6 separate regions of the Homo sapiens genome follow, and all the other regions are linked to region 1. The links are contacts of gene promoters, found by promoter capture Hi-C in blood cells and fetal thymus (Javierre and others, 2016). All regions are on one chromosome and are shown on one strand. The core of a region is centred on a gene start or on the middle of the fragment in contact, and the rest is flanking DNA. Distances in the headings are between cores, read along the strand shown.

Region 1 (5,012 bases), core at 861-3,360:
GACATCAAGGGAATGGCTGCTTTTCAAAAAGGAGTGCTCCGCAAATGTTACCACAGCAAAGCTGGAAGAGTCTACAGTGTTACCCAGCATGCTGTTGGCATTGTAAACAAGGGCAAGATTTTTGCCAAGAGAATGAATGTGCTTACTGAGCCAGGCTGGTCTTGAACTCCTGACCTCAGTTGATCCATCTGCCTGGGCCTTGGCACTCTAAGAGCCAAGTAAGTTTCCTGAAACGCGTGAAGGTAAATAATCAGAAAAAGACGTCAAAGGGAGAGGTGTCTGAGTTCAACTGAAGCGCCAGCCTGCTCCACCCAGACAAGCACTTAGAACCAATGGAGGGAGCCTGGGCTGCTGGAACCTATTCCCTATGAGTTCATGGCATAATAGGTGTCAAAAAAAATTCTGAACTGTACAAATGTTTCTCTTCATTGAGAAGTGTGGCGCCGCCCCCTCCCCTTAAAGAAATATTTAAACTACATTTTGTATCCAAAAACCTCAGTGCTCTGCTGTTAAGTAATACATTAATATGCGTTCTCTGAAAATATATAGCAACATATAGGAGTTTCAAATAACTGCATAAGCTAGATACTATCTGTGATATCATCTAGCACGATAGGAATTAATGTGTATTTTTTGCCTTTTAAAATATTGAACAGTTGATCCTGATCATTAGGTATTAAGCACTGTGAAGGATCCTGTCTGAATACAAATGAAACATAAGCCCGAGACCTTAAAAAATAATCCTTTTGTTTGAAATGATCAGAGAGAAAGACTTCTCACTTAAAAATAAATCTTAAACTTTCAGGAACCATTCAAGTTTAGTGTAAACTGTATTCTGAATATAGAGAATTTTTGCTTTTGCTTGTTTTTGTAATCCTACGTGATTTGTATTTAAAAAGACTGGGTAAGATTAAGAAGACGGAGGAGCAAAGGGCTCAGATTCAAGACCTAATTAGCTTGTAGAATCACCAGTTTTCGATGGTGATGTGGAGATTAACAGGGAGGGACGGGCTAATATGAATCATGGCTCTTGGCTGTAAATCATCAGTGATTACGTCCTTTACCAAAGTAAGAAAACAGGTTTGTAGGGAGGCAGAAGTCAGTTTCCAACACTTTGAGTTTGTGGTGTCCTGGAATGTCACCTGATACCTAGTAAGTAGTTCTGGATCTTTGGGTATGGAACTTGAGAAAGGAATCCTGGCTAGAGAGAGAATTCAGGGCAGTTTATCAGTAGATAGCCTAGTAAAATCATCCTTGAGAATCACTGGTCTATTTAATCTCACCTATAAACTCACTTTTCTCTGTAGTTTAGAGGCATATTCAAACACTAATTACTCTGATATGATCCTCCCAACACATCACCTTATATATCCCCTATCCACCAAAAGAAACTTGAAGGGAAGTCCTAACCATCTACCTAGTTCAAATTCTCTTAGAGCATGGCCCAGGGTAGGGAAGGTACGTTAGCCACGTGATTAACTTTTCAGAAGGATACAATTCTGATTTTGCACGTTCACTTTGGTTGTTTTCACTATTGGTAAAGTATAATACTATTAACCATATTAATCCTCACGGCATTAGATGGGTACTATAATTCTATCCATTTAACACGAGAGAACAGGCGCAGAGAGATTAAGGAACTTGCCCCAAGTCACACAGCTATTAAGCAGGTGAGTGAGCCAAAATTCAACCTAGTTCCAAGACCCAGCCCCTTCACCCTACTTTGTTTGCTGTAGTTTAGCCAGATTTTAAAGCATCCACAGCAAGTTAAATTCCCTTATTCCGCTCCCATTCCGTTTTCCCAGAATCCTTAGGGTATGGTATTACAATTTTCTGCACAAGTTTGAGGCTTTAACTCGTAGTCTTGGCCTGAGCCAGCAGATGACATTTTGTTTGGCCGACTAGCCCCTCTAATATAACTCTCCCCCTGCTTCGGGACCTGTTGCCCCTCAGCAGACCGGAAAAACAACAGTGCCCGGGACAGGAACACGCGGCGGCGGAGGGGTCCGGGGGCTCGCCGGCATCCCAGCCCCCCTTCCCCAGGCCCCTCCTCCTGGCCCAGAATGCACCCGGTTGAAAACAAAATCCCACGTGACTGGCTCTCCTCTCAGGCCATCATGGCGTCTCCCAGTGGGAAGGGAGCCCGGGCGCTGGAGGCTCCTGGCTGCGGGCCCCGGCCGCTCGCCCGGGACCTGGTGGACTCCGTGGACGATGCGGAGGGGCTGTACGTGGCTGTGGAGCGCTGCCCGCTGTGCAACACTACCCGCCGGCGGCTGACCTGCGCCAAATGCGTTCAGAGCGGCGATTTCGTCTACTTCGACGGCCGCGACCGGGAGAGGTACGGCGGCCGCCACGGCCCTATTGTTTCTTCTGCTGTGTGTCCTCCAGCCAGGCAGCCGAAGGCTGGAACCTGGGGCTCCCCGTCCGGGCACCAGATACCAGCGAGAGGAGCGAGAGAGAGGGAGTGTAGCTAGCTGCTCTGCACCGGAGCTTTGCTACCAGAGGACAGCGTAGGGGCCAGATGAGGGAAGGTCGCCGTTTCCCCATCACCCACCCAAGAGGAGTTTGACCCCACGGTGCTCTTGGTCACTGGGGAAAAAAGGAATAAGTGGTGACTCTCTGGAGAAGTTTTCCCGTTGCTGCCATTAAGTTAGATTCCCAGCTCTTTGCTGTATGTACTCCCATTCAAAAGCTTGGCTTTCTATTTTCGAAAGCATATTTATACTCATTCTCTAGAGGAGAGAGTAGAAGAGAATCAAATAACTGCTTTAGAGGGATTTGGGCCTGGTAGTCTGTCACAGATGGACTTTGTTATCAGACATGCTTACTCTAATGTGTGAATTGAGGCTTGCTGTTAACGCCCCTTTCCCCTCCCTGCCTCTAAAGATTATTTTAGATTCTTAGGAATTTGGGAACGTGTTTTGGCCTTGTTTTAAAATTCAGATTGGGAGCTGCATGCTTTTAGTTAAGAGAATTGCCTTTAGGAAAATGTTTTGGTTTCATTTCGAAATCTAAACAGCTACAAGTTCTTGGTTAAGAAAATTGAAAAATTAGTGTGATTAGCTGCAGGATCTCCCACTCTCAACTTATGTTTCAACAATTTAGTGTCAATGATAGTCAATGATAGTAAGATAGCTAGCATTCTGAGCACAAAAATTCAGGTATTAATTCATTCGCAACAACCGAATGACTTATCCCCAACTTATTAGGAAGCTGCACAGTAAGTGCTTTGCCCCAGGTCACACAAATAGTTAAGTGTTGGTACAAGAATTAAAATTCAGACAGCTTGGACCTATGTACCCGCACTTAACCACTAGACTTTATATCCTCTATATTTGGGAATGTTTTGAGTTCTTAGTATTTCTGTGATCGTGGATGGAGTTCTTTCCTTTCTCTTTTGAGGAGGTTTGAATGACAAACTCTTTTTTAGTTTTGTTGCTGTGTCTTATTGGTGCTCTTGATGACTTTAGAAACTGCTTATGTAGTAAGTGATAGCTTTAAAAATTAAACCAGTTATAAGAATACGGGGTATGAGATGGAAATGTCTAACTGATGGAGTGAATCGAGGATTTGGTTCTGGACCTTCTTGTCTGTCTACACGTTTTACTATGTCTATTCACATAATTTAAATACCATCTATATGCTTAAGACTGCCAGACTTGTATCTCCAACCTAGTCTTCTCTAAAGTCCAGAAAACAGCTGCTTATTCAACATCAATATTTTTAGATTTGTAATAGATATCTTCATTTTAATATGGCAAACTGAACTCCTTGTTTTCCATCATAAATCTGTTTTCCCATGCTCATCCCAACCCAGTAAATGTCAATCTCATTGTTCCTTTGGTTCAGGCTAAAAAACCTTTCAGTTCTCCTTGACTCCTCTCTTAACCCAACTCTGTTTAGTCCCATCAACAAATCCCATCTACTCTTCAAAACTTATCTTACAACAAATCCCATCTACTCTTCAAAACTTATCTTAAATCTTACCCTTTCACCATCACCTGGTCCAATCTACCAGAGACATAAACTTATTTCCTCTTATGTCTCTGCTTCCGTCCTTGCTCCCCTTTTGTACAATTTCCATATTGCAGCCACAGTTATGCTACTCCTCCATTTCTGTTCAAATCTTCCAGTGGTTTTTCACTTTACCCAAAGTAAAAGCTGGAGTCCTTAACCAAAGTTCTATATTATCTGTTCCTCTGATTTAATCTCCTATTATTTTCTCCCTTACCTAATCTGCTGTGCCACTGTGGCCTCCTTGTCTGTCCTCAAACATACCAAGAACACTCCTTCCTCAGGACCTTCGCAGTGGTATTTAGACAGCCAGGAACTCTTTCTCTCAGAAATCTTCAGGGCTGCCTCCTTTGTTTTTTTTTTTAGGTGCCTGCTCATACGTTAGACTCTTTCTGATCCTTCTATTAAAATGCTAACCTCATGCGTATTTAACCAGCTTTATTATCTTTTCTTTTCCATAACACTTACCACCATGTGATGGTTGTACATATTAATTTGTCTAACTGCCCCCACCCCAGTGATATAAACTCTATGAGGGCAAGAGTTTTTCTCTTTTATACACTGTTGTATTCTCACATAGTAGAAACTCAATAAAGATTTATGGAATGATTGAACTGACTCTGTCCCTCTTTCCCAAACTCAGTTTCTAGACCGTTTCAGTATTATTCATCATGATCCATTTGTTACTAAAGCCAGAAAACTGGGAGTTATCCTATACTTTTCTTTTTCTCTTCCTCTCTGCATCCAAAACTCAGCAAGTCTAATTCACTTTGATGTGAAAATATATCTTGAATCTATCCGAGTTTTAGTTCAGACCACCATCATTTCTCTCCTGACTACGTAGTGATCTCCCTTCTTTTAGTCAGACAACTCTTCCTTACCTTGCCTCTGGTCTCCAAACAGCAGCCACAATAGAAATGTAAATAAGATAATGTCACTGTTTTGCTTAAACCTTTCATTGGCTCCCATTGCATTTAAAATAAAATCCAAGCTCCTTA
Region 2 (5,012 bases), core at 1,716-4,215, 2.0 Mb before region 1:
AGCCAAACAATTGGCTATAATTTATCATGAGTCCTTATCAGTGCTTTTTAATGCATCAAAGGCTCAAACTTAGTCCATAAAACAAGCCCAATTCATTAAAAATCTTAGTGGAAAGCTGTAACACTGCAATAAAGTTGGCTAAACCTAACATATTAAGTAAACCTATTTATAGTTACTTCTCATGATACCTAGGACCGTGTGTGAGTCTTAGGTTGGACAATAACACTTAATAGTTTTTAAAAAACATGAAAGTGAAAAAACTAATGATTAAATACTGGTACAGGTATTAAACTTTTTTTTATGAATACTCAGCTAAAGCACATCACAAAATTTGACATGCTTAGACAAATGCTTGTCTACCCAATTCTCCACTGTGAACAAAGAGCCACTAGGTCCTAGAGAATAGAAGAGTGGTTTTTTGAAACGGAGTCTTGCTCTGTCACCCAGGCTAGAGTGCAGTGGCACGCTCACTGCAACCTCCACCTCCCAGGTTCAATCAATTCTCCTGCCTCAGCCTCCTGAGTAGCTGGGATGACAGGTGCCCACCACCACTCCCAGCTAATTTTTGTATTTTTAGTAGAGACAGGGTTTCGCCATCTTGCCCAGGCTGGTCTTGAACTCCTGACCTAGTGACTCACCTGCCTTGGCCTCCCAAAATGCTGGGATTATAGGCGTGAGCCACCGCACCCGGCACCTGGTGGCCTATTGAGTTTTATGGCGTTATTTAAATGACAAAAGTTATCTAACCCAGCCATAGAAGAGTGGTTCTTAATCAGGCTTACATCACAGTCACCTAGGGAAGCTTCAGCCCCACCTCTGACAAGACAAACAAGAGTCTCAGGGTGAGGGGCCCAAATACATGTTTTTAAACCACCCACATGATTCTAATGATCATTATAAATCATGAGTGTTAAGATTAACTAAACATGTCAGGAAAAGTAGACCCAACAAAAAATTAAGTTTGGGAATTACAAGAAACAATCAATTCTCATCTCCTGATCTTTCCTGAATTGCAATATATAGTTGATGACTAGCACCAAGTAATGGTAACAATTTGTCCATAATTTTGGCTTGATTGAGGTCCACTTAACCCAAATACAGACAAGTGCTTGAAGGCTGGCATGAAGGACCATCATAATGTAATTATAAATTGCAGTATTTCTTGTGGTACTTAGCATAATGCAAAGCATTTTGAATGTGATTAAAAAAATCTGCAGGTGAAAGCTGATGATCGGCTACTTGTTAAAACGAAAAACTGTCAAACAAAACATTAATAAAGAAAAAATTCATTTTAAGAACTTTTTAAAAATACCATTTTGAAATTAAAAATTAAAACCCGCCTTAATTTTCTTCCCTTAGTTTCTTTCATTTCTACATACTTACATTTAAGTCTTTTATTTCAAAACACAACAAAAATGAAAATAGCTTAGGCATTCTTTCCATAAAATAATATTTTTCTTACCAATGCCATTTCTCCTGTATTTGGAATCCACGGCTAACATGGCTATATAACCTCTGCGGAACATCTTTTTGTGCATATCCAACTTGCAAACGATGGCACCTACACACTCCTCCCCTACCATGGCCTTAAAAATAAACAAACAGTTATGAAGAATACATTGCCATCAGGTACTGCACAATTATCCAGAGAAAACAACAACCAACCATTGGTAAGCATTTTCGACGGGGGAAGATAATGGGAACTCTTGCAAGACAGCAGTCACAGAAGTTTCAGAAATCTAAATCCCCTAACTCCTTTAAATGTTCCAGTGTTAAAATTTCTCAATATTCTTTAGAACATGAATTTTTTATGCTTACTATTAAAGCCTAGGGAAAAAAGACAAGATTCCACAAGGTAAACATTCAAGTACTTTATAAGATTACATATGAGGTGCTTAAAATCACAATTATTTGCAACAAAGACCTAAGGTTCTGGAAGGGGAAATATGCAAAAAAAAAATGATTATAAAGAAAAAGTCTATTCATTAGGACATAAAATATTGTAAAACTTGCCCATCAGCAGAATGTAAATTTAAATATATTCAGTTAAATTTAGTAATAATGGCCAGGTGCTGTGGCTCATGCCTGTAAACCCAGCACTTTGGGAGGCAGGCGCAGGCAGATTGCTTGAGCTCAGGGGTTTGAGATCAGCGTGGGCAACATGGCAAAACCCTGTCTCCACCAAAATTACTTAAATTAGCCAGGTGTGGTGGCATGCACCTGTAGTTCCAGCTACTTGGAAAGCTGAGATAGGAGAATGGCTTGAGCCAGGAAGGGAGAGGCTACAGTGAGCTGAGATCGTGCCACTGCACTCCAGCCTAGGTGACAGAGTGAGACCCCATCTCAATAAAAGAAAAAAATGAAAATAAATTTAATAATAAAGTTTTAGTGAAAGCCAGATATAATACATATTTACACCTGAATGGTAGATTTCGATCAGGAAAAAAAAATTAAAAATTTTCAGAAAAAGCACAGTTTATAAGGTATTGCTTAGACCATACCCAAGAGGTTTTTGTTAATATATGTAAGTGTAGCATAGTCTCATTTTTAGGATACTCCTGATAGTGTGGATAACTGTCATAAAGCTCTCAGAATATTTATAGTTCAAAATCAAAGCTTTATGTTAAAAGCTTTAATTTTACAGAAATTTCTATTTTAATAAAAACGTACAGCTTTCCAGAGTATTAAAAGCTACATGTTAAATTCTAATCATCCCCCATTTTCATTAAGATTTCTAGTGTTACCATTGAAAATGTTTTTCAAAAATTCCAATGCTGATAAAAAGTTCTAGTAACACAGTATTTCTGGTAAATATAAATAGGGCAGTATCTCCAACTGTTTAAATAATGTGTCAGTAAGAAGTCTGTTTTCCATAAATTAACTTTCCAGAAGAAACTATTTCAACAAAAGCAGAAATGAGTCAAAAAACTAATAAGTAATGTCCAATTTATAATTAATACATATTTTAAATTTGTGACTTTTTTAGTCTGTCATTCTGTAAATTGATTAAAAGGCCTTTTTTTAACTGTGGAGAAATCTTTTCAGCAAGATAATTCTAATCCATTTCATGCAAACCTAAACTAGGTCGGAAAAATCCTTTTGAAGGAATATGAAATTCAACAACCCACGCTAATTCATTTCTGGTTTATCACACATTCCAAAACTATTTTGGGTCAATAAACCTCTGAAATTGTTATTTCTAATTTTTTCCCTCACAATACATCAATCTTTTAAAAAAATTTTTTAAACAAAGACCTGAAGTATGCACAAAAATCGCCTCGACCAACTCTGAAAGCTTTTTCTGATTTGAAACTCACTTCAAATATATGTGCGTATATACAGACACGTATAAATACATACACATACATAAAATTATCACAGACCAAATGGTATATTTAAAAGGGCCAGAAAAAATTTTGGCCTGACCTCATAAGCCAGGCTCAGGTGAAATGAAAACCTGTATTAGATTGATGATACAAACCTCAGAATAGCTACACCTTATATAAAACTATCCAAAAATGAGGAAAAATTAAAACCATTAAACACAATACAACTGGACAGTACTTTCAATCTGAACAGGAATTTCAAACAAATCTTTGTCCTTTGAGCATGGAATAAGCAAACAAAATATTAAATTAGTTCATTCTTAAGACCTGATTTCTTCCTAATTTAGAATCTATAGGAGCAAAAATCAAGCTGTATACATCATCTAAAAAGCCCAATATATCATACACCATTACGATGACATTAGTAGTGAAGACCAATGCTGCATTTTTTTTTCCTGATAAACTACTCATGAATATGTGGTACATTTACAGGAATCACTAAATTGCTTGTCAATTTTTCCAAATAAAAGCTCTGCATATACATTTGGAATTCACGCTATTAAATGTATTTTTTCAAGGATGGGAACTGAAAAATCCCCGGCAAGATTAAGACTTAACACTACAAGGCCAAAGGGTTGTCAGTCTATAAAACTATGAAAAAAATAAAGTGAGAGATTCCCAAATTCTAGAACACTACAAATAGAAAACTGGAGGAAGCCAAAAAGTTAAATTTAGAACAAATAAATGGAAGTACTATGTTACATTTGCTGAGAGTAAGTTTAAGAACTTCAAAAAGATACCAACAACTGAAAATGTTACTATGAAAACAGGTAAAGATAAAATGGTTAAGTACAGAGTAACTGAAAGTGTCTCACATTTGTCCTTTTTTTTTTTTTTTTTTACATCTTTTACAATTAGGAAGAATCATAATAAGCTATCATTTTTATTAATCAAGTATTGGCAATTTTGTAAGGTTCAACCCCATATACTCCATTGACCCATTACAGGTTATCCACGGAAAACGGAACATTTTGGAGGTTTTTAATCTCTTGAGATTGATGTAAGGGCAACTGTCCCTTGGTGAAGATAACTTGGTGACACAATAATCTTCACTGAATGGATCAAGGGTATGTCATTTTTCAGGTTCTTGTTTGTTACCATAATGAGAGGCCAGGAGAACTGGGTTCTAGCTTTACCCTTCCGACGGTAAATATCTGGAGATTGAAACATTTTAAGTCACTTTGGTTCTTAACTTCTTTTCAATCAAAAAACAAAACAAAACCTACCCCTCTGTCAGTAAATATCTGGAGATTGAAACATTTTAAGTCACTTTGGTTCTTAACTTTTTTTCAATCAAAAAACAAAACAGAACAAAACCTAAGTTGGGCTAGATTATCTCTAGGATGGCTTTCAGTTCTAAAAGGATATGATTTAAAATAAACAGACATTTACGCATCTGTATTTTTAAAAAAATAGTTCCTATGGGAAACTTAAATTTAAAAGTATGCCAAGATAAAGGCTTCAGTTTTAAATGGCCTGGTTGTTTTTTTACTGTTTTATTATTGTTTAATACCTCCTGATTCATACTTGCACCAGTAAATCTTATAGGTCAACCACTTGTGCATATCGCAATTCTAGATACTCAGAATATTAAACAAACTTGAGCTACTAAAGGCTAACATACAC
Region 3 (5,012 bases), core at 853-3,352, 1.9 Mb before region 1:
AGTCAATAGGATAGTTCTGATTAAGAAGAACAGCTTACTATTTAAACACTTTTCCTTTGTCTCTGTTGGCTGTTTTTTGAAGAGATGTAGTTGTCTCTAACATGGTCTCTGGTATTCTGTAACAACACCTTATACTAGGAGCTTAGTACTTAGATTTGGAAGAGAAAATAGTTTTTATCTTGCACATTATCTACAACCCACTGGGAGTGGCTGCCTGAATCTCTGAACTAAAAAGGAGCCTGACCCTTTATCCAAGGCTCAGTACAGAAAAGGGCTGTAATTGATTAGCAATGTCTGCCACAGAAACACTAGGAAACAAGTGTGGCAGGGTGACCCAGGACCAGTCTAAAATGAGCCCAAGTGAATCATTACTTTTCTATGTTCTGAATTATACTGGCATAAAATCGAAGGTTAACAAAATTGGAGACATTAGCTTTTAAAATGTCCTTTCAAGCTCTATCAGACTACAAACACCACATAAGACTACTTTTACAATTAAATCATTCAGTGATTTTTCACTCACAGGTTATATGCATCCACATTAAAAATATAAGATTATGATTTTCTTTAAACTGTTATCATTATATAATCCCATTTAAACATGAGACTATTACAATAATAATGATCCATATGTTACTGGAGCAGGGGCTTTAGAATTCCAGATGTAATAATCAGAAGAAATTAGTTTCCGGTCTAAAGAAAAGAAAAAGAAATTAATGATAAGACTATTTCAGCAAAAATTCAACGAGAGCAAAGTCATGATTTTTGAAATTGTGGAATGCAGTTATTTCAAGTCAATACTTTGAAATATTCATTTTAATTTCATATTATCAAGACTTTATTATAACTTTTACCATTTTACAAATATAGACTCATTAAATATTTGAAGAATCCATCTTTGACCTTATATGAAATATCTCTCATTTATGCCAAATCTGCCAATTTTATCTTCACATTTTCTCTAAAATCTTTTTCGTATGGACCATTACTCTGACTGCAAAAACATTAAAAATTTTTCATTGGTTTCTCTTCTATAACCTTATCACCATAGCCCTGATTCTGGGTCTTGCTATTCTTTACCCAAAGTGTCAGAGATATAAATTAACACCTAACTTCCTAGCAACATTCTAAATAGTTTGCTTCACTGGTTTCTTATTATAGTTCTGATCAATTTAAGCCTTTTTAAAAATAGCTTTGAAACTCTACAAAAATGGCAACCTATTTGAACTAAAGTTTTCTGATATGTAAAGTTGAGATAATAATGTTCATTTGGAGTTACACATGTAAATTCTTTATATATATATATAATTAAATATCCAATTAAATATAATTATCCAATTCAGCCTGTTCTACCTTTCTTCTTCATGCCCTTCTTCATAATGAAAAGAATATAGACTATATTGTCTTTTTTGTTCTCTTCAAAGTTTGAGAACGCAGTAACAATGAGAGGCAAGACAGCATACTGTTAAGTGGACAGATTCCAGAGCCAGAATGCTTGAGTATCTGACTCGCAGTTCTGCCATTTGCAAGCTATGGGACCCTAATCTCTCAGTTCCATCAGTGTCCTCATCTGTAAAATGGAGATAACAACACTTACATAGGGTGCTGTGAGGATTAATGAGACAATGCACATAAAACACTTAGAACTTTGCCTGGCATATAGTAAGCAATAAATATTAGCCATTATTATTTAAATTGGTATTATTATTACTAAACTATTTTTAAACTAAGTTGTATATTATGAAAATAGATTTTATTGTCAAGATGATGGCAAAATAAAGTTTTACATAATTGCACAAACTGGCAGTCACATTCTGAAACTAACAGAGGAAAGAAAAGATGGGTCATAATATTAATTTAAAATGAGTTCTTTCAACATATTTTGTATTAAGAAGCAGGTATGTTCCTATCTTGTATTATGTTCTCTGGAAATTACTGCAGTATGTTTAGTTAACATAAATAAATTATTTTCCCATAGACAATCTAAAATACTGGTCTGTTTGCTTTCAGTCTCTCATATATACAACAAAAAAATGATGTAAGAGAAAACACAGGGCAAGCCTAGGGAAGTAAAGAATACTGGTTTATTCTGGTTACATTACATAGTAGAAATTATATTGACAAGCACAAATAGTTGCTTAGAATTCTGTAGTTCTGAGTTCTCTAATTCTCTTGAAATGTACATGGAGAGTCCTTTCCTATTCTTTTTATTTTAGGAACCCTAATCCTTAGTTTAAGAAATATTTATCTAACTATAATAATAAAAATGTGTGTAAATTGGGATTATTCTTATCCACATATATAACAGCTTTATTCTCCTTAATGTATGAGGCAAAAAGGTTGTTTAAGTTTAGATAACTCTACCTCATTTTAGCTACTATTCGATGTTACATATTTCTATTTGATCTGAATTAAATACTTTTGATTCATTTATAAATTGTTTTTTGTCTCATATTTTCATATGTTTCGTGTGTGTGTGTGTGTGTGTGTGTGTGTGTATGTGTGTGTGTACACACATATAGATCTATACTTTACCAACCATTAAACATACTAAAATCAGGAAACGTCTTTTTTATTGTCTTCCTATTGATAGAATAGAGAAGGTGCTAAATAATGCTTATTGATTGCAACATTTGCTAAAGATATTTAAAAGTTTTAAATAAGAATCATCTCTAGTATCTACTAAATCTATACTATACACTAAGCATCATACTAAGTCAATATAATCTTATCTAAACCTCATAACAATCCTGAGGTAAATCGCACTATTATTTCCATTTTATACACAAGAAAATTAAAACTTCAAGAAGTTCGCTAACTTGCCCAAAGTTATACAGCTAATGAAATGGCTGAGCCAGGCTTAAGCCCTGTCTGTCCAACATCACAGTCTCTGTGAATCACATCTCTGAATAACCAGAGAAAAACAAATCCAATTTTACACTGAAGTTCCCCTCTATCCCAATCTTTGCTTATCCAGACCACTTTATAAACAAGAAGGCGGCAGAGGGCAGTGTAAAGTACACAAACTGTTATGTGGGGTAGAATCAGCCCAGAATTTTATAAATTGGGATTATTCTCTAATCTCTAAGTTCTGTTACATTCAAATTTTACCTTAGGTAATAACTGCAAACACCATTTTAATTCCCTTAAGTTAGTTTGAATCTGTGTAACTTACGTGCACTTATTTTTGGTTTTCCTGATGCAAAAACTTGAACTGAATGCTGATCTGCATAACATCCAGTAAGTGTGTAATCTAAGATCCTAAAATGAAGCTAGAAAGAAGAGAGAAATGTACCAAATTAAGGTGATTATTTGGTAAAAAGCATGGTTACATTTTTTCCCTTAACCCAGTCTTAGGGAATTTATTTTACACAGTTCACAAAATAAAAACCACAAGTACTAAACTTGAATTGTGTGTGTGCGCACACATATATATACAAAAACACACACAGTTTTTTTTTCCGTTTGCATTAGGGCCATTTTTTTGTAAGGCTGTCATTATGAAGTACTTAACACATAATACGCACTTCACTAACAGCTCTAATCCATACTGCAAGGTATGCTGAGTGAACTGACGTGCAAAGATGGAAGCAATTGGTATCCCAGCACGTAAGCAGCAGAGCTGGCATTTGAACTCAGACCTTACCGACTCCAAAAGCTGGTGCTGTCTCCCCCGTGCTACTGTCTTGCATGCCCTATATTCTCTTCTATCCCTAGGGCTATGTGGCTATGATATATTCTAGATCATAAGTCTTTTACAGGCAGGAAAGTATACACCTTCTAATAAAATATAATTTAATTATGAAAACAGAAACATCAGTTTATCTTGTGTTTAGAGGGAATGAGCTGCGCTAATTTTCCAGAAGGGTGAAATTTAACTTTTACAGAACTAATGCATAAGATGTGATTTAGAATGTAATGTAATTTTCAGATCTTCTCAGCAATTTTTTTTTTTCCTTTTGCAACCCAAATTATCTCTGATAATAAAAGGCTGTTGCGTGCTTTTTTGGTATAATTCTTAATGCTGGAAGTTATGACAAGACTGATTTCCATACAACTGAAATACTGTAAAACACACTTAGATCATTCAGTCAACAAAAATATGTGCTACATGCTTTCAATGTGAGTGTAACTGGTTGGTGATGGGAATGAATAGAAAAATCGTAATTCCTACTTTTGAAGGACATAGAATGTGTGGTAACATTCCACATTTTTTTCTGAAAGGTATCTGAAGTAGGAATTTTTATAATAATCCTTGAAACAAAGCTTCTGGACATAAGTGAAGCCAAGATAGAAGAAATGAATTATCATCAGTATACTTCTGACTTCACTACCACTTCCCCTAATTGTCTGTATTTCTCTTGATGTCTTTAATACATTTTTTATGTTTTCTTGCTACCTTTCTAATCACTCCTTCAATTCCCTCATTTGTTTTTTTTAATCTTCCTGTATTATTTTATCCTTTTCTGATCTTATTTATTTCCACTGCCTCAACTATTTGTTCTCTGTGGCTAATTCCTAAATCCTGTATACAGCTGAGCCTTCTCTTAAGAATCAAGCTTTAGATTTTTAGCTACCCACTGAACATTTACAATGGGCTATATTGCTATTGCCAGCAAAAAATATGATATGAAACCCATTTCTTCCCAATTTTCTCCATATCAATAATTTAGGTATATTCATCCATTCAGCAAATATTTATGTGTTAGGTCCTGGACTAGATATTTGGAATAAAACAATGAATGAATGAGATTCACGTCTCTACCCTCTTAAAAAGCGTCAAGTTTGGTTTAAGTTCCATTTTTTTTTAAACAATATCATCTTGGAACAACACCATTCCTTGTCTCTGTATTTAATTAGTGGTCAAGGCTTTATTTTATCACAGCTTTTACAGCAGTCCCTTCATTTTTCTCCCTTCTCCCTTCTTTTCTCTTTCTGTTGACACTACACTAACTCAGCATTATTAACTTATTACAATATTACCCTTTCATATGGAATATTAATATGTTACA
Region 4 (5,012 bases), core at 1,226-3,725, 1.2 Mb before region 1:
CGACCGAGGGAGAAGGACACGGCCAGCCCAAGAACCCGGTGCGACACGGAGCTCCCCAGCCGAGAGACGAGCGCAGCTTGTGCGGCGGCCACGGCGGCTTCCGGGTCGAGCCTCCGCGGGTTGGACCGCACCTTTCTCCGCCTGAGCGCGGGGAGGAGAAAATGCCAGGCCTCCCTTGAGCCAGGCCCTGCGAGTTTTCCCGCAGTGCACCACGCATTGGCGTTCACCTACTTATAATGTGATTTAAGGTTCCTAATCACCAGGAGAGCATTCCCTTTAAAAAGCAAGCCCGGCCACAGGCCTACCTTCTCCATGGCTATTCCCCCCTTTTATACTGACTTGGTTGGGTCTGACAGAGACCAAAGCAGCGTCGAAAACCGCGAGCGAGGAAGGGCTGCTCCTGCCCCCTACGGTGCGGGGTGGAACTGCACAAAAGGGCCACGATCAGCCAGGAGCCCCTACCTGTGCTAAAAAAAAAAAAAGGGTGGTGTATTTACCGTATGTGCAAAGTAAGCCAATAAATACATTAATCACAATTATGTATTTATTACGATTTACTACGTTACTATGACTAATTACAATAAGTCTGTGTGCTACTTATTAAATCACTGAGTAATTTTTAGAGAGATTAGAATATGCTAGTGCGTCTTTTTTTTTTTTTTTCATTCCATAGCATAATGAAAACTCTGTAGATGAGTCGGGAAATTTGAGTTCCTGTATTCATGCAGATAACTCAAACCATGATAAAGGTGTCTCCTAGTTTAATGAAGAGGAGTGTTTTGCTGGAGCTTTCAACACAGCAAAGTGGAAAATGAAATTGAATCACCATATTTTACAATGAGCTGTAACGCAAAAAAAAAGAATCGGAGCCGTTAATAAGGACAACTACATAACAGCGCAGTTAAGCTTTTTAAGCTTATGTTTTATTATTAAAGCAATTATCCTGGAGTGGGCGGGGAGGAGAGCAACCCGCATAAAATGTATCTCAAAGACACACTGAAAACCAGTGACAATCTCAAACGTGTTACGCGCAATTTGATAGAGACACAGTGACTAAACTATAGAGTAACATATACCTACCTTGACGGTCATGGGGCCAGCACACCTTAGTCTTTTCCAGGTACTTATACAATTTCCAGCCTTTTCCAGGTAATTTCTCAGCTGTACTGTGAGTTCCTGGAGGAGAGGGGCTGTGTGGTAGAGTGCTTCTAAAATGGATTCCCAGATAACCCTGCCTCCTCACTCACTTCCTGTATAAGCTGCTCGCCTTATGTGTGAGCTTAACCTAAGGATTGGCTTCTATCAATACAATAAGGCAAAAGTGATGGATGTCACTTTCAAGATTAGGTTATGAAAGACTAACTTTCATCTTGCTGGCACTCCCTCTTGTCCTCTCACTTGTTCTCTCTGATGAAGCCACCTACCATGGTGTAGGCTGCCCTGTGGAAAGGTCCACATGGGAAGAAACTGAGAGCCGCCTCTAGCCAACAGCTGGCAAGAAACTGAGACCTTCAGTCCAACAACCTTAGAGGAACTGAATCTAGGCAACACCATGTGAGGGAGCTAGGAAGTGGATCCTTCCCCCACATAAGCCTTGAGATAACTATAACTCCTGTCAAGACTTGGATTGCAGCCTGTGGATGACCCTGAAGCAGAGGACCTAACTAAGCCTCATCCAGACTGCTGTCCTATAGAAACCGCGAGATAATAAATGTTGTTTTAAGTTGATAAATGCAGGCTAATTTGTTAGTTATCAGCAATAGATAGTTAAGATAGGCTGTCTTCTATTTCTTTGCTGAAAGAACATGCCAATGAGTAACCTTGACTGGGTCAAGCATATACTTCTTTCCCTTTTTATGCATTTCACTTTTGCTCATGAGTTTTATTTAAAATTTTTTTATTTTGGAGGGGAATAATTCTTTGTCCATGTTTGGGAGGTAGAGATCAGTGCTGGAAGTACAAATTTAGGAGTTGCTCGTGTAAGGATGATATAAATGACTAACTTGATAAGGGGATAGTGTAGAGAGAACAAGGTTGAGGTCTAATGTCAGCCCATATTCTCATTTAGGGAATGGCTGGAGAAGGGGAGAGAACAGTGTAAGAGAATGAGGCATCACCAGAAGCTAAAGAAGAAAAGTCGATGAAGTACATGTGGTCAGGATGTTACAGAGAGGTAAAGGACAATGAAGAGAGGCACGTCTAGATTTTGTGAAGCTCAAGTGTATAAAACTTGGAGAATTATATGTAAGTAAACTGATATAAAACTGCAGATACAGAATTAGGCACAAGATATTGGAAGACACCTGGGCTAGAGAGGAACTGTGAGGCCTAAGCTTCATTAGCTTCATGGTTGTTTTCCTTTGAAGATTAAGAACTTCCAGTTCTCTGTTTATGTCTGACTCTACCTCTCAGTAAGCATCTGACTATTCCTTCCTCCCCGGAAGTATTTTCTTTTCTGGCCTTCATTGATAGCACACTCTTTGGTTTTCCTTTTATCAATGGCCTCCCTGCCCTGGCTCTGCTTCTGTCGGTCCCCCAAATGCTGAAGTATTCCTGGGCTGTTCTAGACTTTTCTCTCTTTCTGTCTTCTTTCCCGAGATGATCATATTGAAGCTTTAAAGGGCAACTATGGGGCAATATTTCTCAAAATTAGACCTCCTCTGCTTCTCTTTTTTAGCGACCGATTATTTTAAAAAACCCAACTGCCCCCGACCTCTCCATTTCTATGTCTAAATAGCCTGTCAAACCTGATGGACTTTGTCTAATTTCCACCATATTTAAAATGATGCCTGGCACAAAATTGGTGCTAAACAAATATTTATGTAATAAATGAATACATGAACAATCAGAGATCACTGGCATATCCGTTAGGGATTGCATTTAGCTACTAGTGACAGATCCTGCTACAGTGTCTTAAACATTAAAACAATCATTCTCTTATATAAAAGAAGTCAGAAGTCTATAGGAAGTCAGTCTACCACTGGCTTGGCAACTCCCTGATTCCACTAGGGACACAGCTGAAGTCCTCATATCTTTCTGCACCATCCCACTCAGCTCACATTCTCAAGGTCATCTACTGATCCAAGGTGGCTGCTAATGCTCCAGACATTACATCTGTTCTTGAGGAAGAAAAAGAAAGGATGGGAAGAGAAAGGCCTGCTCCAGCTTTTTTAAAAAAGCACTATTTTTTTAAATGCTATTCCACAATTTTGCTATATCTAATTGGCCAAAATTGAATAACAGGTCACTCCTAGGGGCAAAGGATGCTGCGAAATAGACTTTTCAGCTGGACAGTTTGCCTAGAATTCTATTACAAAGGAAGAAGGGGAGAATGGATACTGAGGGGCAACTAGCAGGCTCTGCATGGTTGGATTTGGTGACCTGGAGGTATTTGAACCTTGAAAGTTCAAGAGGTCAGCTTCAGTAGAGTAGTATCTACAGAAACAAGGTACTAGTGGGCTAAGAAGTGAGCAAATGGAAGACATGAAAATAAAATACATTTGCAAAAAGTTTGGCAGTGAAGGGAAAGAGAGAAATAGCATGAAAATTCACAGGGATCGAAGTGTCAAATGAAGATTTTTGAATGTCTTGTTTTGTTTGTAACTCAAGGGAGTATTTGGAGAGACATAGTGATGAAGTAAAGATGTACAGGTTATTGGAGAGGATGGGACTGAGGAGGACAGAAGAGAAGGGTTGAAGATAGAAAATGTTAGAGATAAAGAGAGAGACCTCATGATGTCTCTCTTTACACATGATGTGTAAACATGTGATCGTTGGACTTGATCCTGAGACAGACCAATAAGACATATAACGAGTATTGATTTATTGTTTGTGCTCTACATCATTCTATGATGGCTTAGAGTTAGCCACTATAATACAAACCATAAAGCAGAAAAATATGTAAATAATTTGGGATTCATCCAGAGAAACAGAACTAGTAGGAGATATGTATGATACAATTTATTGCAAGGAATTGTATAATGTAATTTTGAGGGCTGGCTAAGTAACTCTGAAGCCCGTAGCACATGCCATCAGGAAGGGAAGACTGGAACTCCTGGGCATGGCAGAAAGCTGTTGTCCACAGCTGGAAGTTTTTCTTCATCAGGGGACCCATATCCCTGCTCTTAAGGCCTTTCCACTGATTGAATCAGGCCTACCAGATTAACTATGATAATCTCACGGTTTTGAAGACAAATGAGGCTGGGCATGGTGGCTCATGGCTGTAAACTCAGCACTTTGGGAGGCTAAGGTGGGAGAATCACTTGAGGCCAGGAGTTCGAGACCAGCCTGGCCAACATGGCAAAACCCCATCAATACTAAAAATACAAAAAAAAAAAAAAAAAAAAAAAAAGCCAGGTGTGGTGGTGTTTACCTGTAATTCCCGCTACCCAAAAGGCTGAGGCACGAGAATCGCTTGAAACTGGGAGGCAGAGGCTGCAGTAAGCCAAGATCATGCCACTGCACTCCAGCCTGGGTGACAGAGCAAGACTCTGCTTGGAGAAAAAAAAAAAGTCAACTAATTATGAACTTTAGTCATATCTACAAAATACCATCACAGCAACACCAAGATTCGTGTTTGATTGAAAAACTGAGGAATGTAGCCAAGCCAAGTTGACACATTCGAAGAACATCACAGAGGCCAGGGAACACTCAATTAGATATAGAACATCAGATTGACGGAAAGTAAATACATAGATCCATGGCCCTATGGTACCCTAAATTTGGCTCTGGGAGTCTTCCTGGGATTTATGGCCAGCATCTAGCTTCTGTTGAAACCAAGGAGATGGCTCCTCATTATTGCTGAGCAGAGGTGGACATTCCACCTACCTGCCGGGCCTCTACTGCTGCCTCCCTGCTGCAAGGTAAAGGAGTCCTCGTCACTATTCCACTTGTGGTTTCCACTAGCACCACATGGTTATGGGGGTATGGAGATGGCCTCCTTTTCCTTGGACAGTGGTGAAAGTCCTGACTCTCACTAGGCTGCCTCTGATACTACCCCAGAAGGGAGGGAA
Region 5 (5,012 bases), core at 1,344-3,843, 1.1 Mb before region 1:
CCTGGCATATTCAGGATAATGCGGTGTCCATGGCAGCCATTATGTTGTATGAGGTCCCTGGAGCCACGACAGATAGTAAATGACTGTGGTGGAGATGGCACACGATCCTGGGGCCATGCACATGTCAGGCTGCAATTACCAGAAAGATTTCAGCTTTTGCTCCTGGCAGAGGACCTTGTTTATATTTGTCATTGGCACCATTGCTTCCATCACTGGGCCAAAAGCTTATTAGCCACTGGAAGTTGGCAGAGGTGCATGGACCAGAGCAGCTGACTGTGACATGAGGAACTGATATTCTTGCAGTCTTAACAGTGTCTCCACTGCAGCTTTCTACTGGCCAAATTTGTGAGGACCCACCTGTAACAAGGGGCAACTGGCTATCTTTAGTCATCAGCATCAAATCCATCTTCAGCCCGAAAGACAGAAATAATTTAATCCTAGACTTGGATAGATTCGGTGAGTTTTTTCTTTCATGCTCTATGTAAGAAAAACCCACAAAGAAAGCAGCCAAAAATGACTTTTACCCCTGAGTTGAGATCACCTAGATTTTATTCATCAGTGAAAGCTCCGAGAAACGACAAAGCCTTGTGAAAATACACACAGTTGTCCCTCAGTATCCACTGGGGATTAGTTCCAAGATCCCTGCAGATACCAAAATTCAGGGATGCTCTAAGTCCCTTATATAAAATGGCACAGTATTTGCACATAACTTTTACATCATCTCTAGATTACTTATAACACCTAATAAAATGTAAATGCTATGTAAATAGTTGTACTGTATTTTTATTTGTAGTATTTTTTATTGTTGTTTTGTTATTTTTAAAAAACATTTTCAACCCATAGTTGGTTTGAATTTGCAGATGCGGAACCGGCAAATGGAGAGATGACTGTATACTTTCCTCTGTGAATAATAGGGACTTACTTAATGTAAGATCATCATCTTTAGGAGATGGTGGGCTCAGTAAGGGCAGAAGCAAGGTTTTTTATTTTAGCATCTCCCCACAGGACCTAATTTGATGCTCCCTCTTTGTAACTGCATCTTGTGCTGTTTTCCTCACTCTCTCACTCATCTCTCTTGCCTCTCTCATCTCCACCTCTTGCATTTTTTCTTCTCTGGGAGGCTCCATGTCCTTTTACATGGAGATTAATTTAGTTTACCTGGGCTTCTGCAATTCTGCATCTCTACCTATTACCCTCTAAGCACAGCAAAGGCTGGCTAGCCAAGTAGTGCCAATAAGGTTTCTCCTTAGAAGATGAGGGAGGGAAAAGGTTATATTTGTACCTATATCCATATAATGCCCATAAATCATAATATCAACACATTCACTCTCCCACTTAAAAATCTTCTGTACTCTCTTTGCTTACCAAGTAAGCTCCCTTCCCTTCCCCTGATTTTCAAGGTCTTCTGTGACCAAGACCAATCTTCCCGAAAAAAGGGTTTCCCAATATTGGCACTATTGACATTTGGGGCTGGATAAGTTTTGTTGTGGCAAGCCATCCTGTGCATTGTAGGGTATTTAGCAGTATCCCTGGCTTCTACTCACCCGATGTCAATAACATACCCTCACCTAGTTATAACAACCAAAAATGTCTCCAGACATTGCCAAATGTCCCCTGGGTGGCAAAATCTCCCCTGATTGAGAACCACTGCTTTAAAGCCTTATCACCTGCTACTTCCCATACTAGGCCTGTACTCTATCTATATCGGACACACTCAGAGTGATCTTCCCTTCATACTTCTGCTTATTCTCTTTCTCTGGTTTGCGATGCCCTCCCTTTCACCACCCAACTCCATCCACCTAAAATCCTACTCAGTCTTTTATGGCCAGTCTTTACTCCATGAAATATTACCTAATTTCCTCTTAATCAAAGCTTTAGGCATTTGTCCTTTGAATTCTCAATAACGTTTTGTTGATACCTCTCATAACTTTAATTCTGCATCATTTCCATTTGACTCCATGAGTATAATAACTATTTTGTAGGTGTTCAACAAGTGAGTGTTTGCTAATGCACATACATATGTGTGTTTTTGTGGTTGAAAATTGGAACACGGGTGTAGGAGATAATGTTCTTTCACCTCCTTGAAGGAGGCCAGAGGGGGGTCATTCTCATGCCTTTTGCATCCTTCTTCCTGAGCTGCTGGTAATCTATTGTACTAGATGTGAGGATTCAATAGACCCTGCCGTACTCAACAAAATTTAAGGAAATAAGCAAAAGCTGATCTTATTTCCTTCTGTGATATGGTTTGGATTTGTATCCCCACCCAAATCTCATTTTGAATTGTAATCCCCAATGTTAGAAGAGAGGCAGGTGGGAGGTGGTTGAATCATGGGGGCGGATTTCCCCCTCGCTTTTCTTGTAATAGTGAGTGAATTCTCATGAGATCTGGTTGTTTTAAAGTGTGTAGCACCTCCCCCCAACATCTCCCTTCCTCCTGGCCACATAAGAAGAGCCTACTTCCCCTCCCCCTTCTGCCATGATTGTGAGTCTTCTGAGGCCTCCCTAGCCATGCTTCCTGTATAGCTTGTGGAACTATGAGCCAATTAAACTTATTTTCTTTATAAATTACCCAGTCTCAGGTATTTCTCCATAGCAGTGCAAGAACGGACTAATACATCCCCCAAAGCCCATGGTAGGTGCCCTAAACCATTCTCATTGTTCCTAAGTGCTGAGAAAAGTTGAGGCCACTCTCCTACTCCAGCAAAGCCCTGGAAATGCAAAGGTCCCAGCCTCATCTGACCAATCAAGATCCCATGGCCATAGGCACTCACACTGAGAAGCCTTTCTGCCACAGTAAGTCATGTCAGCAACATTAAAAACAAATTTAAGGTTTTTCTAGGGAGGCTCAAACTTTTCCTTTATAAGTCACTTGTCATCTCTGGCGACAGGACAGCTAGAAACTCATAGATTCCAGGAGAGCTTTCCAGCTGTCATGGTAACTGACCCGATGTGGCGCTGAAACTGTCCTCATAGCTAACCAACCATTACAGTGGTCCTTCGCTGGATCGGGGGGTGACCTCAGGAAATTCATTTGGAGTATTTCTCCACTGCCATCTTGAGGTCACTGGGAATAGTGCATCCTCCTTCCTTTTGTCATTGAACAGACATGGGCCTGAGGGATTTGCATGCTCTCTCTGCCTCCCATGACAGGTGCTGCAGCAGGCTCAAGAAACAGCATTGCCCTTATCACTGGAGCTTAGTCACTCTCGCTGTTCTTACCACGAGGCAGACCTGTCAGCAGGAACATGGATGTCTTAGCACTCAATGACATATCCTAGACACACCATGCTGCTTACTTTAAAAGAAAAGCTTAGGAAAGAAATGGAATTATAAAAATAAAAAAAAAGAAAATCTCTTTCAGAATCCCTACTCCCATGAGATGTCCAGGGTTCGAACTTTAAAAAGCAAAAATAAGAATAGTGGCCAAGAAATACATTTTTGTGTATGTGTGTAAAAGATGGATAAAATAAGGCATTGTTTAATTTCCTTCTGACTTCCCAAACAATTTCATATCATGGACATGAATGCTTTCTCATTTTATATGAGTTTTTTTTTAACCTGAATAATACAGAGTCTATTTAAAACTATTTTACCACTTATAACCCTGGAAAAAACTTCTTTCTCCTGGGCAGTGCCTGGTGGTTGGTTTGAAAAGCTAGTGGCTCCTTTTCAGAGTGTTTTTCTTAAATAAATGTCTGTCACATTAATGATTAAAATCAATTAAGCTCAATCATACACCTGAATCTAGCTAGAAGAGAATAATTCAAATGTTCCTAGCATAAAGAATAAATATTTAAAGTGATGGATATCCCAATTACCCTGATTTGATCTTTACACATTATAAGAATGTATCAAATTATCACATGTACCCTCGAAATATGTACACCTCATATATATAAATTTTAAAAATCAATTAAGTTCCTTTTGGAAGAAAGGGACACTGATTTCCTCATTCTAATTAGGTGATGTATTGCCCTCTAGCGGCATGATATGATAAATAGTGATATAAATCCAATGCAGGATGAATTTGCCTCCATTCATTCAGTGGGTTATTGAACAGCTACTCTGTGCCATGTACAGCTCTGGGCTCTGCCCGGGTACAGCAGCAAAGAAGATAAGCCAGTGTCTTCACTTCAAGGAGCATATATTCTAATGGGGGGATACAGAAAATTAAAACTTAAATAAGAAAAATCTTAGTGATATATGCCCTGGAGAGAATTAAAATAGAGTTATGTGGAAGACAGTGGTTGAGTAGATACTTTAGATTGAGCCATCTAGGATGTCCTCCCTATGAAGATGATATTTACCCTTAGATATGAATGCCAAGGTAGCTAGCCAAGACGAAGATCAGGAGTAGGAACATTTTAGGCAGAAGAAACAGCTAGAGCAAGAAGTTTAAGACAGAAATGAGAGGTGTTCAAGGAACAGAAAGATGGTCAGAGCTGCTGAAGCTTGGTAGATGGGAGAATGGCATAAGATGAGTTTGGAAAGGACAGATGATGGCCAGATCATACACGGCCTTGGAAAACCAAAGAGAATAATCTTTGAAGATATCAAGCAGGGGAATTACACTATTTGATTCACATTCTTTAAAAACTCTGGTTACTATGTGGAGAACAAATCCTTTGTGGAGAACAGAGGAGGCTGCTATAGTAATCCTCCAGGAGAAATGATGGCGGCTCGGCCCAGCATGACATTGATGGGAATGAAGATGGTTGACACATTTAGATATGTTTTAAAGGTAGTATCAGTGGGATTTGTTCATGGCTTGGTATAGGTAGTGAGGGAAAGAGAGGACTTGAGAATGACACCTTGATTTTTAATTGACTAACAGAATGGAAGAAAATGATATATACCAAGATGAGAAATATTGCTTGAGGGTTGTGTTTGGGAAGCAAATCAGGTCATGGCCTTCATAATTAGGATACAAAATACAGAACAACTTTTTTTTTTTTTTTTGAGATGGAGTCTCGCTCTGTCACCAGGCTGGAGAGCAGTGGCTCAATCTCAGC
Region 6 (5,012 bases), core at 1,077-3,576, 1.1 Mb before region 1:
AAAGTGCTGGGATTACAGGCATTAGCCACCATTCCCGGCCTGTATTTATATATTTTAAGGGATTAAGATAGCAATGAAAAGTAATTTTCATGGGCCTTCCAGGGAAGGGGAGGGTGAGAGGAAAGAAGAGAGGAGAGAGAGAGACAAAGTTTGGGGTAGGTGTCCACAAGCAAGTAGGAACTTAGAGTCTTCCTGAAGTCATCTACTTTGCAGGGGAAGGGTCTTAATAATGATAATGTTAATAATAATAACTAATGTCTATTTGGTGTCTGTACACTGCACGTCCTGATATTAAATTGTTGTTCACTTACTGTTCGCTTAGAATATTCACATAAAAAAATATTTATTAAGCTTTACCATGGTGCTGGGATACAGAAGAAAGAGTGGATAGAAGATAGCTATGCAAATAAAGAAAGAAACATATAATAGAAGTAGGCACCGAGTGTGGCCATGTATTTCCTCTTAAGTGGCAACACGTTCTTGCATTTTTACACAAAGCTAGAACTCATTGATACTCAGAGGCTGTAATGAGAATTTCTACGGAATGTAGCTTTTATCTCTGCAGTATTAACTTTGGTCAAAAGATGGCAGCAAAGTTCAGCTAGCTCTTCGGAAACCACTTCTCAAAAGTGAGGGGAGAAGGGAGTAACTATTCACATCTTTTACAGGTTAATGGGCAAGTTGGGGAAAGGTTGTCTTGCCGCCTACACATGAAATTGTTTTCGAATTGTATATCACAATATTTATTAAACATTAAAATATCACAAGTTCAATGTAAGCCAGGTTATAATATTCAAATTATATTTATTCATTCACTTGTTAATTTACAAATGTAAATATTCATTAATTTCCCAAATGTTTTAGTACCTGCTAGGCATTAGCACTACACTGAGAGCTGATGATACTTGTCGACCAGAATATACACAGTTCCAGCTCTCATTGAACATAGGGCCTAGAGTGGGAATGATATTAAAAAGATAAATAAAGAAATGAACTTGTAATTAATTATTCATAGAATGTAATTACCTGTGGTAATTATATTGTATTTTTTCAGTTTCCTAGTACTTGAGAGTAACAGAAAATACTCAAGCATTTATTTTTCAATTGCTTGACTAATTATTCAGTTGCCTAGGACAGTACCTGGCACAAAGTAGGTGCTTAGTAAAGAGCTGTTAAGTGAGTGAAGGAGTGTAATTACAAATCTGAGATACACATGTCCAGAACATGACTGGAGACAAGTTTCTAATGAAGGAACATGACCTGGGTCTGGGAAAGTGATGTAGGTCTGAAGGATGAGTAGGAGGTAACTAGATGGCTGTGTATGTGTGTGGATTGGAGGTGGGGAGTCTCTGGGCATACAGTAGACCATGAGTAAAGGCCCTGTGACGATGGTGGTTGTGGGGTAGGGAGGGGGTGGAGAGGAGGCATGGGAACATGTCTTGCTACAGGGAACTAAAAGACCAGTGCGGCCTCAGCACAGGGAGTCAGGGGGTTGAACAGTGATGCACAACATAGACTTTGGTGTAAAGAATGAGTAGGAGAGGGACGAGAGTGGATTTGGGTAGAACAGGTGGGAAGCTGTTGCAGTCCAGGTGAGAGATGGTGGTAGCTTAGACTAGGGGGTGGGCTAATGGAGTGGGAAGTTGTCAAAGTCACCCGATGGGAGCACATGATTATATACAGACTATAGAGTGTGAGGGAGAGAGGAGCTCCAAGGATTACTGACTTGTGCAATGGGGTGTGGTAGAAAGGAAATTCTGGAGGAAAACCAATTTGGGGGAGGAGGGAAGATCCTAAGTTCTATCTGAAACATTCTGAGAATTTGAGACATCCTAGTAGAAATATTAAGTCCATAATTACATTGAAGGGACAGAGCACAGAGAGGTCTGGAGTGGAAATTGATTTGGGAGCCATTGGCATGTAGATGACATTTGAAAAGAAAAGGCCTGGTTGAATCCACATATGAAGAGAGTATAGGGAAAGAAATGGGGACTAAGACTAGCCTTGGGGAACTCACACTAGGTGCCTGGTGGAGAAGGATGGCGGCAAACAAAACAGAAGTAGCCAGAGAAGAAAAGAGGAGAGCCAGGAAAGAGTGTGTGAGTGCAATGGACAGAACTCTGGACACAGGAAGACCTTTCTCATGTTCTGAGAAAGGTTGGCATCTCCATCCTCCACCACAGTCCTTCCATCCAGCCTGTTCATTCACCCATTTAACTGTGGCCCTTGCTAGCTCCAACACAAATGTCCTTGGCTCTTGGTAGAGCCAGTCCCAGGAAGATAATGTATTTTGAGCCACCAAAACTATAGATCATGGCAAATAGAGAGCAAAGAATAATGACATGGACATTGGTGGAAGAATTTATTTACAGTTCCAAAGAAAAAGACCACTGGACTAAGAGTTAGGAAGCCAGAGATCCAATCTGAGCTCCCCCACTGGCCTGCTGTGCCAGTTTAGGGATTTCTCTGGCTATGCTTTATTTCAGTGTTATCATCATTAAATTTCAGGGCAGGAGACTGTGGTGGGTGGGTGGGCAAAGAGAAGGAAGAAAGTAAGAGAAAATAATACACACTCTGCATAATAATAAGCTCCTTATAAAGATCTTATGAGATCAGGTGTCTAAAAGTGCCTTGGAAAACATATAACATCAAATACTTTCCTATATGATAAAAGAATTTTAAAAATACTCTCATAAAAATGGAACCATGCAATTGATAAATCTGGAGAGTTTCCAGGCATTTATTCCTAAAAAGCTGTGTGAATGCCTTTTATCTCTTTCTATCCTGCTGCTAGCACCATATCCTTTTCTAACTAAAAATGAAAAAAACGAAATAAAGAAAAAAACTTCTAAAATCTGTTATTGATGCAAGGAAAAGGATACATATAGATTTTTAACAATATAGATTCAGGACCACCCAAGCTAATGGATTCCAGGCCAGACAGCAAAAACAAAAGGATTACCACTAAACCCTCCAAACTGTTTTAAAAGCTGGGGAGGATAAGTGATGGGAACATGGCGGGCTAGAGGTACCAGGCACCAGACCCTCCACCAAGAAGGACCAAAACAGCAAGAAGATAACCATACCTCGAACAGAACTTCAAGAGAGAACCCCAGAATTGAGCAAGAGAGTGACAGAGCACTTCTGAGGCTTGTAAGGAGAGGGGAGCGAAGCATCCTGAAGCCAAGAGAAATTCCCAATGGCAGGCGAAAGATAAGTGAGAGATCCAAAGTGGTCCACATTCCCACAGTGAACTCTGCAATCCTGGCTATGGGAAAGCCCTTAGGCCCCTGTGGGCCCTGAGACTAGTATGGGAGCTGCTTGGAGGCCACATAACGGCATTGTTCTGCGGGGGGATTTTGTGCTGGGTCCCAATCCCCCTCCCCTACCCAAGCAGTTGCAGCACAATAATATTTTGAGAGCGCAGCCCTCACCAGACTCCATCCTGTCCTGGCTGCTCACAGCCCCTGCATCTCCATATTCCCAGCGCCACACTGGGATCTCTCATGTCCACCTGAGAGCTACAGTACTGCAACTGTGGTGAGTCCCAGTGGCACAGCTCTGTACCCAGCAGTCTGGTCAACACAGTGTCCTACCCCCCAGAGAACAGGTGCAGTGCACCACGGAGGCTGCCCCTGGGACCAAGGGAGCCAAAATGTGTGCCCCCCAGAGCCTGAGAGCCTCCTGCCCTAGGCTGCGGTACTGACACCAACCCTAGCCCCTCCAGGAGCAGAGCCACCACACTTCTGCACAAGCTGTCAGGATGCCTGGGGATTGGCCCGCCCCAGCTACTACCACCAGCTCCCATGCACATGCCATCTGGGGTCCTGGGGATAGGCTCACCTGCTGCCGCTACTGGAGCTTGCACACACTGTCCAGGGACAGGCCCATCCTACCCGCTGCTGCACCCCTGGACCATGCTCACCCAGCCTGCTGCTGCCGCTGCCAGCTCCCATCCGGGGACCTGGTGACTGGTCTGCTCAGCCTGCTGCCACCACTGCTGGCACCCATGTGAGTGACCCAGGGGCCTGAAGGTTGGCCCCCCACTGCTACTGCCACTGCTGACGCCATATGCACATCTCCCAGGCGCCTGAGAACACACCTTCCCAGCCCACCACTGCAATTGCCTGCACCTAAGCAAGCCGCCTGGAGGCACAAGGATGTGCCTGCCTGGACCTGCCACTGCCAGTGCCAGCATACACCTCCCAGGCCTCCAAGGACTGGCACACCAGGCCTGCCACTGCCACCACTGGTTCCTAAAGACTGGCCCACATGTCATCCCCATCCCCAGCAAAGCTTTGCCTCAGGCTCCACTGCAGCCTAAACCACTGAGAAAATCACAGAAGTCACTGAGGCGGATTATAGCCAAAGAAATCATACAGAGACTATAGTATTGCACCCACCCAGAATCAAAGCCAAAGCACCCTGGCTGACCAACCTTGTAGAAAGCTCTTTCCCTGTGAAAGCCTATCCGTAAAACTGGGAGCAGTGCTGTCACACCAGATGTGAAGATATCACCCTAAGGAAACAAGAAGCATGAAAAAGCAAGGAAACATGACACCTCCAAAGGAACACAATAATTCTCTAGCAGCAGATCTTACAGAGAAGGAAATCTATGAAATCCTTGAAAAAGAATTCCAAATATTGATATTAAAGAAACTCAATGAGCTATGATAAACACTAGATACGAGAGAAGGGGCTTCAGTGGCTGACTGGAGGCACCAAGCACTGGCTTCCTCCACAAAGAAGAAATAAAACGGCAAGTAAGTAATTACTCTCTCAATAGAGCATCTGAGAGAGAACCTTGGAATTCAACAGAGAAGTGACAGGACACACCTAAGGCAAGGAAGGAGAGGGAAGGGAGGCAGTCTGCTCTGCTAGGATCAGCTAGGAGCCCAAGAGTGAGGAACCTACTGTGAGGAAAGGGTAGAAGAGATCCTCAGTGGTCCACCTCACTACTGCCAACTCCTGCAATCCTAGACAAAGAAGAGCCCCACTCCATCCTCACGGAT

What was found. Contacts are between HindIII fragments. The CHiCAGO score rates a contact against its expected background, and 5 or more counts as called.
Region 2: a fragment that was not itself captured here is called in contact with the fragment with the promoter of ATG14 in region 1 in 1 of 17 cell types (total B cells); the score reaches 7.0 in total B cells.
Region 3: a contact is called between a fragment that was not itself captured here and the fragment with the promoter of ATG14 in region 1, in 1 of 17 cell types (total B cells). The highest score is 5.6, in total B cells.
Region 4: a contact is called between a fragment that was not itself captured here and the fragment with the promoter of ATG14 in region 1, in 4 of 17 cell types (fetal thymus, naive CD8 T cells, monocytes and 1 more). The highest score is 7.8, in fetal thymus.
Region 5: a contact is called between a fragment that was not itself captured here and the fragment with the promoter of ATG14 in region 1, in 1 of 17 cell types (fetal thymus). The highest score is 7.4, in fetal thymus.
Region 6: a fragment that was not itself captured here is called in contact with the fragment with the promoter of ATG14 in region 1 in 1 of 17 cell types (fetal thymus); the score reaches 10.7 in fetal thymus.

What each region holds. Positions count from the first base shown.
Region 1 is chr14:55,408,928-55,413,939 of GRCh38, reverse strand. It overlaps ATG14 (autophagy related 14), which reads left to right and starts at 2,110. Exons shown (of 10, transcript NM_014924.5): 1 at 2,110-2,338. The coding sequence starts at 2,118. It also overlaps a transcript of FBXO34 not described here and the pseudogene RPL21P6. RefSeq lists a silencer at 1,821-2,120. The HindIII fragment of the contact is 5,042 bases long and covers 1-2,694 here.
Region 2 is chr14:57,393,326-57,398,337 of GRCh38, reverse strand. It overlaps NAA30 (N-alpha-acetyltransferase 30, NatC catalytic subunit), which reads right to left. Exons shown (of 5, transcript NM_001011713.3): 3 at 1,463-1,586. Among named protein-coding and RNA genes, the nearest start is that of NAA30, 5.2 kb to the right of the region's middle. The HindIII fragment of the contact is 665 bases long and covers 2,633-3,297 here.
Region 3 is chr14:57,284,483-57,289,494 of GRCh38, reverse strand. It overlaps AP5M1 (adaptor related protein complex 5 subunit mu 1), which reads right to left. Exons shown (of 8, transcript NM_018229.4): 7 at 3,176-3,272; 8 at 1-693. The coding sequence ends at 611. Among named protein-coding and RNA genes, the nearest start is that of AP5M1, 18 kb to the right of the region's middle. The HindIII fragment of the contact is 4,333 bases long and covers 1-4,268 here.
Region 4 is chr14:56,574,893-56,579,904 of GRCh38, reverse strand. It overlaps TMEM260 (transmembrane protein 260), which reads right to left and starts at 107. Exons shown (of 16, transcript NM_017799.4): 1 at 1-107. RefSeq lists a silencer at 1-39. The HindIII fragment of the contact is 280 bases long and covers 2,336-2,615 here.
Region 5 is chr14:56,489,552-56,494,563 of GRCh38, reverse strand. No RefSeq gene overlaps it. Among named protein-coding and RNA genes, the nearest start is that of TMEM260, 88 kb to the left of the region's middle. The HindIII fragment of the contact is 1,437 bases long and covers 1,875-3,311 here.
Region 6 is chr14:56,470,192-56,475,203 of GRCh38, reverse strand. No RefSeq gene overlaps it. Among named protein-coding and RNA genes, the nearest start is that of TMEM260, 110 kb to the left of the region's middle. The HindIII fragment of the contact is 3,945 bases long and covers 354-4,298 here.